Regions from separate parts of the Homo sapiens genome. Here regions 2 and 3 are each linked to region 1. The links are contacts of gene promoters, found by promoter capture Hi-C in blood cells and fetal thymus (Javierre and others, 2016). All regions are on one chromosome and are shown on one strand. Each heading gives the region's core, a stretch centred on a gene start or on the middle of the fragment in contact. The rest is flanking DNA. Distances are from core to core; before and after follow the strand shown. Region 1 holds the start of UBA2 (ubiquitin like modifier activating enzyme 2). Region 2 overlaps LSM14A (LSM14A mRNA processing body assembly factor). Region 3 overlaps LSM14A (LSM14A mRNA processing body assembly factor).

What was found. Contacts are between HindIII fragments. The CHiCAGO score rates a contact against its expected background, and 5 or more counts as called.
Region 2: a fragment that was not itself captured here is called in contact with the fragment with the promoter of UBA2 in region 1 in 5 of 17 cell types (naive CD4 T cells, naive CD8 T cells, non-activated CD4 T cells and 2 more); the score reaches 6.5 in naive CD4 T cells.
Region 3: a fragment that was not itself captured here is called in contact with the fragment with the promoter of UBA2 in region 1 in 2 of 17 cell types (fetal thymus and non-activated CD4 T cells); the score reaches 8.3 in fetal thymus.

What each region holds. Positions count from the first base shown.
Region 1 is chr19:34,426,036-34,430,298 of GRCh38, reverse strand. UBA2 (ubiquitin like modifier activating enzyme 2) reads right to left here and starts at 1,918. Exons shown (of 17, transcript NM_005499.3): 1 at 1,729-1,918. The coding sequence starts at 1,866. It overlaps LOC124904695 (a long non-coding RNA gene), which reads left to right and starts at 1,935. Exons shown (of 2, transcript XR_007067232.1): 1 at 1,935-2,177; 2 at 3,898-4,193. It overlaps PDCD2L (programmed cell death 2 like), which reads right to left. Exons shown (of 7, transcript NM_032346.2): 7 at 4,131-4,263. The coding sequence ends at 4,179. RefSeq lists silencers at 1,421-1,580, 1,651-1,760, 1,791-2,030. The HindIII fragment of the contact is 4,339 bases long and covers 1-3,032 here.
Region 2 is chr19:34,218,649-34,223,026 of GRCh38, reverse strand. It overlaps LSM14A (LSM14A mRNA processing body assembly factor), which reads right to left. Exons shown (of 10, transcript NM_015578.4): 7 at 3,454-3,636; 8 at 3,150-3,321; 9 at 1,289-1,520. Among named protein-coding and RNA genes, the nearest start is that of GARRE1, 34 kb to the left of the region's middle. The HindIII fragment of the contact is 2,440 bases long and covers 1,011-3,450 here.
Region 3 is chr19:34,176,150-34,180,313 of GRCh38, reverse strand. All of the region lies in intron 1 of LSM14A (LSM14A mRNA processing body assembly factor), which reads right to left. Among named protein-coding and RNA genes, the nearest start is that of LSM14A, 5.7 kb to the right of the region's middle. The HindIII fragment of the contact is 8,937 bases long and covers 1-4,164 here.

The DNA of each region.
Region 1 (4,263 bases), core at 669-3,168:
CCTGGATGCCATAAAAATATGTGAATTCATTAAAACTATATGTGCTGTCGAGGTAAACACTAACTGAAAATATATTAACATATTTCTCTACACCGGGAGTGGTGGCTCATACCTGTAATCCCAACACTTTGGGAGGACAAAGTGAGAGAATCGCTTGAGCCCAGACCTTCAAGACCAGCCTAAGCAAAATAGTGAGACCCTGGTGGCTACAAGAAATAGAAAAAATAAAATTAGGTGGCACATGCCTGTAGTCACAGCTACTCGGGAGGCTGAGGTGGAGGATCACTGGAGCCTGGGAGGCGGAGGTTGCAGTGAGCCGAGATCGGGCCACTGCACTCTAGCCAGGGTGACAGGGCCAGACCCTGTCTCAAAAAATACTAAAGTATTTCTCTTTCAATCGAATTACTCTTTCAAGTACAAAATATTAAATTTAACTATGCCCTGTTCTTTTTCTTTGTTTTTTGAGACAGGGTCTCCCTCTGTTGCCCAGGCTGGAGTGCAGTGGTGCAAACACAGCTCACTGCAGCCTCGACCTCCCAGGCTCAAGCGATCCTCCTGACACAGCCTCCCGGGTAGCTGGGACCACAGGCGCACACCACCACGCCCCGCTAATTTTCTTTTTTTGTAGAGACGGGGTTTCTCTATGTTGCCCAGGTTCTGTTCTTTTTCTTAAATGATACATGGCAAACGTTTATTGAATTTTTGCTGCCTCCCTTAATTCAAGCCTTCATCCATACACAATTTCATTTACTATTAACCTGAGAACTGTGAAAGGAAACTTTTACACATGGTTAAAAAAGTATCATGTTTTAAGTTTTATCTAATTTTTGCTTAAATATATAATACATAAAGGAAAGAAACAATGACTCAGTCGGCCACCCGTACTTTTTTGTTCATTCCATGTTTCCACTAGCCCTTAAGACACTTTAAACTCACACCGAAGGGCCAGTAACATCTCCAATCTCTAAAAAGTTTGCATTAGTAGAAATAACGATTCAAAATAGCACTGGCTTGTCAACGTACACCAATGCAAAAGGCACAGTCCTAACGTCTTTAATGAAACAAGCGAGTGTACCGTCTACTGTGAGAGCAATGACAGTCACGCAGCCTGCGGGAGCCCTGCCACTCGCTCCGTGACCCAGGGTAAGTTACTCAACCCCATTGCGTCTCCCTTTCCTCATCTGTTAAAAATAAAGCAGGGTGGAAATAGCGTTTGCACTCCTCGGGTGGTATGAAGATGGTGCGCGTTCCGTGTGTAAACCCGCTCGTGACCAGCGCTCGGGACGCGTTGGTCGCTATCATTGCCATCCTCCGCCCCGCGTCGTTACTTCGGAGTTACGACAGGGACCTCAAAATTAAAGTCACAACATCCGCGAGGGACTCAATCCTCTCCCGCATCTCCTAACAGCCGGGAATTTGTTTTGAAGGGAGGATAAGAGGCGGCTTCACGCCCACGAAGCGCCACACATTGGCGCTGCCGGGGAGGCGGGGGCCCGCGGCCTCCTCGGCGTCCGGAGCCGGCCCAGCGAGCGGAGGCCCGCCCCGTGCCCAAAGAACAGTCTCCTCCCGCGGGGGGGGCACAACCCGAGCCTCTCAGCCTGCCCCCGCTCCGCAACTCCGGTCCCGGGCTCCGGGCCCTGAGCCTCAGAGCCCCTGGAGCCCCGGAACCCCCGAATCCCAGCCCCCGCACCACAGCCCGCCATTCACGCGCGCGCGCCCGGCCCTCACCAGGTCGATGTGGGAGAAACCGGTGAGCACGAGATTCTTGAGGAGCTCGCAGCCGATGCCGCCCGCCCCCACCACCAGCACCCGGCCCCCGGCCACCGCCTCAGCCAGCTCCCGGGGCAGCCCCCGCGACAGTGCCATGGCGGGACAACCACGAGCCGCGGCGGAGGCGGAGGCGGGAGAACCGAGCCGCGGCCGGAAGCGGGTGGGGGAAGGGCGGCCTGGTTTCCGCTCCTGCGCACTACAGCCTCCGGCAGACACAGGCAGGGCACATCGCGCCGGGGTGTGCTGCAGCCCGCGGGGACCGGCAGGCTCTTGCAAAGGGCTGGCGACCTCCAGCTGAGACCGGCGGTGTTATTCCCACACCAGCATAGGCCCGCCATCAGACCTAAAAAGTCTAAGGGTCGCCTTCTAGCCTGGGGTTTCAACTCCCAGCCAAGACTTCCTTACAGGTTAGAAAACTGATGTCCCTATACGTAAAGAGCTCTTACAAATTAACAAGTGTCACCCCCAAAAAAATATAGGCAAAGGATGTGAACAGGAAACTCACAAAAAATTGGACAATATGATCAATAAGCGTATTAAAATGTAAACCATAAAAGAATCGCTTGAACCCTGGAGGTGGAGGTTGCAGTGAACCAAGATCGCACCACTTCACTCCAGGCTGGGTAACAGAGCAAGACTCCGTCTCAAAAAAGAAAAAAATGTAAACCATGCAAAATGGTAAGATTTTCACCTGCCGGGCGCGGTGGCTTACGCCTGTAATCCCAGCACTTTGGGAGGCCGAGGCGGGTGGATCACGAGGTCAGGAGTTCTGAAACCAGCCTGACTAACATGGTGAAACCCCCATCTCTACTAAAAATACAAAAATTAGCCGGGCGTGGTGGCGTGCGCCTGTAATCCCAGCTACTCGGGAGGCTGAGGCAGGAGAATCGTTTGAACCCAGGAGGCAGAGGTTGCAGTGAGCCGAGATCGCGCCACTGCACTCCAGCCTGGGCAACAGACTCCGTCTCAAAAAAACAAACAAACAAACAAACAAAAAAAAACACCGAAACAGCTGGGGGTGGTGGCACAAGCCTGTAGCCCCAGCTACTCAGGAGGCTGAGGCAGGAGAATTGCTTGAACCCAGGAGGCGGAGGTTGCACCACTGCACTCCAGCCTGAGCAATACAGCGAGACTCTGTCTCAAAAAAAAAAAAAAGTTTTTCACCTACTAAACTGGTAGAAAGAAAAAATAAGTAACACTTATCAAGGGATTGGGAAACAAGCACTCCAACACACTCCAGGTAAAGATTCCAAAGCAAAGCTTCTCTAGAGGGCGTGGTGGCTTGCACCTGTAGTCCCAGCTACTCAGGAGGCTGAGGCAGGAGGATCACTTAAGCCTGAGAGGTCGAGGCTGCAGTGAGCTATGCCCTTACCACTGCACTCCAGCCTGAGAGACAGAGCAAGACCCTGTCTCGAAAAAAAAGAAAAAAAAACCCTAAAATTGTGCACAACTTTTGACTCATTCATTCCAATTCTAGGAAACTGTCCTGTAGCAGTTATCATTGATTTAAAATATATATAAATTTAGTTACAGGGATGGCCATCATGGGAATAAAAATTGGAAAATACAAGTGGCTAAAAATTGTATAAAGCTTTTGATGTATATTTAAAAAATAGAGCAATTATAAATTATGTTGTGGGAAAAATATTAATGGGAAAATGCTCCAAATATAATGTTAAATGCAAGAAACAAGCCCACCCCATGATCACCTAGGCCTCATTATCCTCATCTACGTAGGCAGAGCATGTCTGAACATGGCTGGGAGTGTTTTTATACTGCTGTTATGGGGCTGAAGGGAAGGGGTTGATCATGTTAAAAATAAAGAAAGGGGAAGACTGGAAGGCAGCTGGATAAAGGGACAGTCTCCAGAACGGAGTAAAGACCCCTTCCTGGGATACTGCAGGAGCAGAAGATGGGAGTGGGTGAGGGCGGGGACCTGGGCTGATGAACATGGGCAGGTCTAAACAGCCAGGGTCACAGAGCAAAAACCTCCAGCAGCTAGAGCAGGTTCAGTGGCTTGATCAGGTGCCAGAAACAGCATAGGAAGCACTGGAGTGCACGTGTCAGAGGTGTACACAAGAGGCTGACCACTGCTCTTGGCTCTTTCGCTGCTCTCCTCCCCCCTAGAATGCCCACCAGAACGGCTGTGCAGACAACACCAGCCCTCTGGACTAGAGAGGAGCTACCTTCCTAGCTGCCACTGTGACAGCTGGCCCTGGACCCTGGAAGGGCAGACCAACCCACAGTCAGGAGGTCCTGGCCCGGCCCCGGCCCCGGCACCAGCACCCAAAGGCAAAAAGGCAACTCAGAAAAACAGAGGTTAATAACTTGTGAGTTAAAATAAGGTACATACAAACATATTTGGATGTAAACATTTGTTTTAATTTATATTAATAAAAGGAAATGCTCTACTTAAACAATAATTCATCTGGGTCTTCTTGTATAATACAAAATTCTTCCATGGGAGTCTGATGATTTGGGGGCCAGCAACTC
Region 2 (4,378 bases), core at 981-3,480, 210 kb after region 1:
GTATTTTAAAGACTAGGAAGAAAGACCCCAAATTGGGTGGTTGGTCAGTGTCAAATATTGCAGAGGAGTTAATGGCAAATAAAATATTTGTGAAAATACTACTGCTGAATTCTGTAAGCAAGGTGTCACTGGCAAACTTAAGGGCAGTAACAGTGATAAGCGAGGGCTATTCTGGAGTTCCTAAGACAGATTCTCCTAGCTGGGAAGGTGATTTTGCAAGTCAGAAGTCCCGCAACTACATAAGGCCACCAACGGCTGGATGGCATAAGCTGGTGACTTGAGTATAATTTTTGGCAGTCTTGGCTGTGATGGCACAATATCAAAAGCATTAAAATTAATAGAGCAGGTCCAAAAGCCACTAATACTGATCTCTTTCCAGAGAGATCTCAACAATGGCCAGTTTTAAGTACTGGGCAATGGAACTCCTGCTAACAGGTCTTTCTGTTTCCAGCTGCCTGTTGCTATTACAAGTGGAACTCTTTACAAGATTTTGGTCCTTTCTGTTATAGCCCTTCCTCTCCACTACTTCTAAAATCAATAAACTAAGATAGTTTACTGTTAACTGAGATAGTTACTATGCTGACTTAATTTACAGACACCTGTCAAAAGCTACATTATACACATAAGGCTACTATACAGAGTTACAGAATTCTCTAGCAGTAGCTCCTGAAGGCCAATATATCGAAACATTTTCAATTTCATGGTGAAAGGAGAAAACCAGGGAAAATGTAGTGAATTTTCAACAAAACCAAATTAAGAGTACTGACTCAGGAAACAACTTGCTGGGCTCAACACCCAGCACCATCACTTACTAGCTATGTGACCTTTCGCAAGTTACTTAATATCTCTATACCCATTTCCTCACTTGTAAAATGGGGATAATAATAGAACCTACCTCACAGAGTTGATGTGCAGTTTAAATAAGTTAATATGTAAAAAAATATTTAAAACAATGTCTTGTTACTTGGTAAATACTATATAAATGTTAACTGCTATTAAATGTTAAAGCTTGCCCTTCCATTCTGGGAGTATGTGCTTCCTAGATAGACTCTTTGGGTGTTAAAAGTATATTCTGTTAACATGAAATAAAGGTGATACTATACTGTCTTTTTTTGTATAATGTCTTTATATATACATCTGAATCACGTATATCCTCTACTGAAAAGTCAAAATGGAAGTTATTCTAATGTCCTCAAAACAATTCACCCAAAACAAAAACAAGTAAAAATGTTTTGAGTCTTGTAAAATGCATGTCAACCCCAAAGAATTTATTAACAGTAACACTTACCCTATATTCAAAATCCGCAAACTCCCGGCCCCCACGACCTCCTCTGAATCCACCGCGAAATCCTCGAGGGGCAGTGAAGGTACCACCTCTGCCACCACCACGCCCTCTGCCACCACGGAAACCAAGACCTCCTCTGCCTCTGTATCCCCCACGGCCACGGTTTGGACGAAGTGGGATTCCAAATGTTTCAGCATTTAATCTTCTTTCTTCAGCCCAGGTTGGTCTCCGTTCTCTATTATAAAAGCAAATAATCTTCAGCATATCAGGTTTAAAAGAATATCCCTCAGCCAAAATATGCAGTGCTACTCCCAAATTAAGCCTAAGTAATTACTAAAGCTAATTAGAAATAAGCATCTTGGCTAGGCGTGATGGCTCACGCCTGTAATCCCAGCACTTTGGGAGGCCGAGGGGGCGGATCGCCTGAAGTCAGGAGTTCGAGACTAGCCTGGCCAAAATGGTGAAACTCATTCTCTACCAAAAATACAAAAAATAGCTGGGCATGGTGGCAGGTGCCTGTAATCCCAGCTACTTGGGGGGTTGAGGCAGGAGAATCACCTGAACCTGGGAGGTGGAGGTTGCAGTGAGTCGAGATCGAGCCACTGCACTACAGTCTGGGTGACAAGAGCGAAACTCCATCTCAAAAAAAAAAAAAAAAAAGCATCTTATCTAAGTTATCACGAGTTGTTCATGGCATATGAGTTCAATATGTTCCTGTAATATTCTGTTAAACTTCATGTGAACACATGACTGACATTAGTTTCTTGCAAATACACCTGATAAACATAGTAACAGCTCCAAAATAATGGAAATTCAGATATAATGAGATTGGTAATTGACTTCGCTTTCCACTCAGCCCCAAGGGAAAAGAAGGTAAAGTCAGACAGGGAGGCCTTGTCTTGGGAAGCTAGGAGATGGAAGGTGGGCCCTTAGGTCCCCATTATGTTCCTGGCCCAATCTATGGACCCGATACCAAGTAACCCAAGAAGTATCTGAATTATTGCTGCTGTCATCCAGCCAATCGTGGGACTCAGAATTATGTCCATCCATGTTTATATTGAAGCAAACAACTGCCACCAGAGGGCACCAAACTTCAGCCAGGAAAAGGACAAGGACAATGACAATTTGGATTGGGCAGGAGAACCTCTAGAACTGTTAGTTCCTCACACTGGGTCCTTTAATTAACCTCTCAATAATTTGCCAATTTTCTGGACCCACATTTACTACAATCTGGCAGTTTTATGGTACCAGCAAACTTCAAAGTAGATTAGCACTTCGGTTCTGGCTTCATTTGAACTGTAACATACAGGGGTGAAAAAAAGGTCCTACTTAGACATTACCTAAATGCTTGTTTTAATTGCTAATATTCAAATATGAATATATCCTTAAACAAAAGTATATGGTTATTTCTTCTTTTGAATGAATAATTTAGAACTTTAGTATATATTTTCTTTTAGCAAATAAAACATTAAAAAATCAATTATGGCCAGGTGTGGTGGCTCACGCCTGTAATCCTAGTACTTTGGGAGGCTGATCTTGAGGCCAGGAGTTCACGATTAGCCTGGGCAACATAGCGAGACCCCCATCTCTACAAAAAAATGAAAAAAATTAGCCGGGTGGGGTGGTGTACAACTGTAGTCCCCTTTACTGAGGCTGAGATGGGAGGATTGCTTGAGGTCAGGAGCTTGAGACTACAGTGAGCTGTGACTGCACTGCTGCTCTCCAGCCTGAGTAACAGAGTAAGACTGTCTCAAAACAAAACAAAACAATTATGGTAGTATTCATTAAACCTCGTGAATTTACATGAAACCATTTTACACTTCAATCAATATCATAAGATAAAAGAACAGCTTAAAAACTGTACCTATTGTCATCACAAGAAATATTATCAAAGAAGGATTTAGTTTTGTCATAATAGCAATTAGGTCCAAGTGGATCTTCTTCATCGGCATTTCCTTCACTGTTTTGGGTATCAACTCCTGAGTCTCCTTTATCTTCACCATTTACAGGCTTCTCCTGTTTCTCAAGTTTATCTTCTAAGAACAAAAGCACATATCAGAAAAGTCAAGACAGCTAATCTGAATTACATAAAAACACCTAATCTGAGAAACATCTGTAATTCACAGATCAAATAAGATTATTTTCTGAAAAGAAAAATCAAAGCTTACCTTTTAATTTAAGTTTATTATGAAACTCTCTGTCAATCTCTTCCTTGTTGAATTGTGCATTTGCACTTTCAAAGTCAAAGTCTTTCTCAAATTTCATTGGCCCATCTCGCCGAATACCAAATCTTCCCCTGCCACCCCGATGACCCCCACGCCCTCTCCTTGGAGCTGAAGGAGCACCTGGAGCTATGATAATAAAGAATATATACAAAGGACATTCAATATGTAATAGCTGGTTTAGCACAGATGTTGCTATTGTGCTCTTTAGATTCAACAGTCAACAACAGAAATGCTTACAGGTCTCTCTATATATTTTATTGTATTTGTATTTTTTATACAAAATAAAAAATTAAGTTTCACTAATATTTAATATGTAGACTGAGAATAGCTCACACAAAATTTCTAAACATTTGTATTTATGGAGTCCACACTCACATGTGTTACTGACAGAGTATACAGCCAGGCAAGTGTGGAGGCTTCTGCACTAAATTAATGTATGCTCCTTGAGGTCAGGGGCTTTGTTTTCCTTACTGCTATATCCCCAACACCGGCAAACTGAAGTGCCAGACACACAGTGGGTTCTCAAAATGTAGAAAGCCTTTTATGGAAAGAATAACAGGAACCAAGATTTATAGTAAGAAAAATAAACACTAATCGGCACAAATTGCAAGAAAATAGGTGTTATTTCCACATCACAGATAAAAAACAGACAAGCACCAATCCTTACTGACTCAAAACACTTCCTACTCCATCTTTACTGTGTCTCTCCAGATGGCTCTATATTATTCAAGCCTTCCTGTATCTACACATTCTCTCTCCTCTATAACACAGTAAAATTTCAGCCAATCATAAGAGACATGATAAAGCAATACAAAGCAGCATAATTTATAGTGAAAAACGTGGGAACCCAAATATCCAACACAAGAAA
Region 3 (4,164 bases), core at 1,121-3,620, 250 kb after region 1:
ACAAACAAAAAACCCTACAAAACTAGAATAAGGCCCTTGGGAATAAATTATTTTACAGACCAACTCACACTTTGTCCACTAAAAAACTTACTTCAAGCCAGACACTGTGGCTCACACCTGTAATCCCAGCACTTTGGGAGGCCAAGGCAGGCAGATCACTTGAGCCCAGGAGTTAGAGACCGACCTGGGCAGCATGGCAAAACCCTGTATCTACAAAAAACAGAAAATTAGCTGGGTGTGGTGGTGTGTGCCTGTGGTCCCAGCTACTTGGGAGGCTGAGGCAGGAGGATTACCTGAGCCCAGGGAGGTCAAGGCTGTGATCGTGCCACTGCACTCCAGCCTGGGCAACAGAGTGAGACTCTTGTCTCAAAACAACAACAACAAAATTTACTTCAATGGTATCTAGTTTTTAAAACAGCTAATTAATATATTATTTTATAGCATCATGAGAGAAAGACAAATTGTTTCTATAGCAAGCATCTTCTAGCACGGAATAATTAAATTCAAGTTAAACTATCTGTAGTTACTGCTATTATTACTGTGGCACTGAGTTAAATACAAAACTCCTGCTATGTATCATGCACAGATAAGATTTCTTTTTTCTTCCTACTTCCTTCCTTCTACTATTTTTTTTCTTCAGTTTTATGCTGTTTTCTTTACTTCCGACTTAGAAAATCATGGCTTACCTTACTTACCCCTACTAGAAAATGAACAGTTTCTGGCACCTGACTTCAGACTCCCAGAATTACCAAGTATTTCTGCGGACTATGTAACAATAATAAACTGTTTCCAAGGCTCCAAGTACTGGCAACATCACTAAATAGGGCAACAAAAAGAAACTGTGGCTTGAAGTTTCACTAGATCTTTGTCATTTTAGATAGTAATTTTGTGAATTGCTAGATTTAGATCCCCAAGTAATGCAAGAAATCAAATAAAGCACCCCGCAAGTATTTTATCCATCACACAAAGCTCTTCCACTCTCTCCAATAAGGTAATAGTTTATGACTATGTGACTAACATCAAGAAGTAGATAAATTATGCCAATGAGCCAGACTTAGCAGATGATTAAAGAAATCTGTTAACAATTTACTTGTTTTTCTATTCTTCCACCAATCTCTTGATTTTAAGAACAACTTATTTTAAAGGCAAGTGGCTTATATAATCGTTCTTCATAAAGTCTCTTTTCCCAGTGCAGTAGCAACCTGGTTTCCATTTGAATGATTATCCAGGTAAGCTAACTAAATGTAAGAATTTATTTTTTATAAGAATTTCATTCATTTTAGCCTATTTAGGCATCCTACTCACTTATAGACGTAGGTGCAAACACAACTGGAACTATTCCATAAAATATTCATACATGTCACCACTGTGTAATTTCTTCCTACACCCTGAATGGAGGCTTCCTTTAAACTTTAAATGAAAATTATAATTGAGCTTGAGTCACAAAGAGTTTACCTCCCCAATAATGTTAATTATGTCACTAGATTTCATCCTCTTGCATCCCTACTCACTGAAATTCTTCAAGATTTCTTAATGTGAGGCAGGATAATTTAATTTTATAGGGAAATGCAATTGTGAACATGGAAAAGCATTATTTGGAGGTATACCCAAGATACTTCTACAAGAACAATAAGCTAAAATGCTAAATCATTTCCATTTACTCACTAACTAAACAACCTTTCATACCAGGAGCTCAGAGTCTGGAGGTGAAGGGGAAGGTGAAGACAGACAATAAACACATATGCAAATAAGCAAAGAAGATTAAGTGTAAGTCATGATCAGTGCTGAGAAGAAAATAAATTCAGAGCTGTGACACAGACTACAAACTGCAACAAACTGCAGAAACAAACTGCAACACAGATCATCTATAAACATACATAGCAGATTGACATCAAAGCCTTTCTAGGTTGCCTTTATGACTTCTTGACATATGCTTAGGTTCCGAGGATCAAAGCCCCTCAAACTTACCTGTTTCACTTTCTAGAACTAAAGCTAGTCTGTGACATCTCTAGCAGAAAATAAGGCACATCGACCATTTCACAGCACCTCTGCAATTAGGCTTTTGATTATGTGGTGTGATAACTTATCCACACTGAAACATTTTCAAAAGAGAAAACAGATTATTATTATTATTTTGTGTTTTTTTTTTTTTTGAGACAGAGTCTCGCTCTGTTGCCCAGGCTAGAGTACAGTGGTGTGATCTTGGCTCACTCTAACCTCCGCCTTTCAGGTTCAAGCAATTCTCCTGCCTCAGCCTCTCAAGTAGCTGGGATTACAGACATGCACCAGCACGCCCAGATAATTTTTGTATTTTTAGTAGAGACGGGGTTTCGCCATGTTGGCCAGACTGGTCTCGAGCTTCTGACTTCAGGTGATTCGCCTGCCTCAGCTTCCTGAAGTGCTGGGATTACAGGCTATCATTGTTATTTTTTAAGACAAGGTCTTGTTCTATGTTTCAGGCTGGAGTGCAGTGGCATGATCACAGCTCCTCTTGGGCTCAAGCAATCCCCCTGCCTCAGCCTCCCAAGTGGCTGGGACGACAGACATGCATGCCACCATGCTTGGCTAATGCACTTTTTAAAATTTTTTGTAGAAATGGAGTCTCCCTGTATTGCCGAGGCTGGTTTTGAACTCCTGGGCTCAAGCAATACCCCGGCCTTGACCTTTTGGAAATGTTGGGATTACAGGCCTGAGTCACCCTGCCCAGCCGGGATGTTTTTAATAATTATGCCAGAGCAGGCACAAACAAGGACTTTCCACCAGGGCAAACTAGGCCATATGGTTACCCTAATTATATACCACATCAAATGTAAATAGCCAAAAATTTCAAGAGTAGTTTATAGTTCCAGATATATTTAAATTATAATATCCAAGCCCTAAATTATAATATGGACAATATAAACCAAGTGAATCCCTTACTAAATATAAAGCTCTGAATATCTCACATTGTACACAAAATCAATTTCAGATGCATTATAAACGTCAATGTGAAAAAGCAAAGCACAAAAAGGTTTAAAGATAATCAAAGTATCTCTATGATGTTTTAAAAAAAGAAACACTAGCCATAAAAAACTGATGAACATGTTTACATTAAAATGAAGAACTTCTGTTAATTTAAAGAAACTACTAAATGGAAAAAATGTTTGCAATATATACATCCAACAATGGAGATATATTCAGAATACAGAACTCTAGAAAAAGACGTGTTTCGATTTAAAAAAGGAAAAGATTTCAAAGGCATTTTATGAAAAATGAAATCCAAACACCCAGATATGAAAAGCTGGTCAGCCCCATTTAGTAATGAGGGAAATGATTAAAACTAAATACAACTACATACCCACCAGGATTGGCTAGAATTGAAATATATGATACCACGTACGGTTGTTGGTAAGGGATATGAAACAAGAACTCTTACATACTAATAAATGAAGTAAAAACCACTAAACAACTACTTTGAAAAACTACCTGGCATTACCTGATAAAGACCAACATTCCCCATGTTCTTGCAATTCAAATTCTAAGTATATAATCTCAAGAAAACGAAATAAACATGCACCAGTGCACTTAAACAGAAATGTTCATAAAAGCATTGTTTATAATAGCCCCAAACTGCAAACAATCTAAATGCAATATCCAAAACAATGGCAGAAGGAATAAACTTGTGTTATATTCATGATGGAATATTATGAAACAATAAAAGCTAAAAATAAAATATATACAACACAATCCTATTTACATAAAGTTAAAAATGGGCAAAATTAAACTCTATTATTTAGAGATGTAAACTTATATGGTAAAACTATAAATGTCAGAAGAACATTTATATCTAGCTTAAATTAAGATGGTGATAGTTGTGATGGGAAAATATAGGTGGTGGGAGGCTTCTGGGATGCTGGCAATGTCTGTCTTGCCCTGGGTGGTGGTTACAAAGATGTTTGTTTAAAAATATTTCATTTTTATCTTATGTATCTTTTCAGCCTGTGTAGTTAGGTTTCCCAATAACACTCTCCCTGAGAAATTAAAAAAAAAAAAGTTCAAAAGAGAATGCTAAGACTGTTACTCAAAGAGATTAACTCTTAATCCATAGTTTAAAAACAGTAACAGGGATCTCTACATCCAAATACACACTGTATTATAAATTCCATGAATAAACTTTTGGCTTCA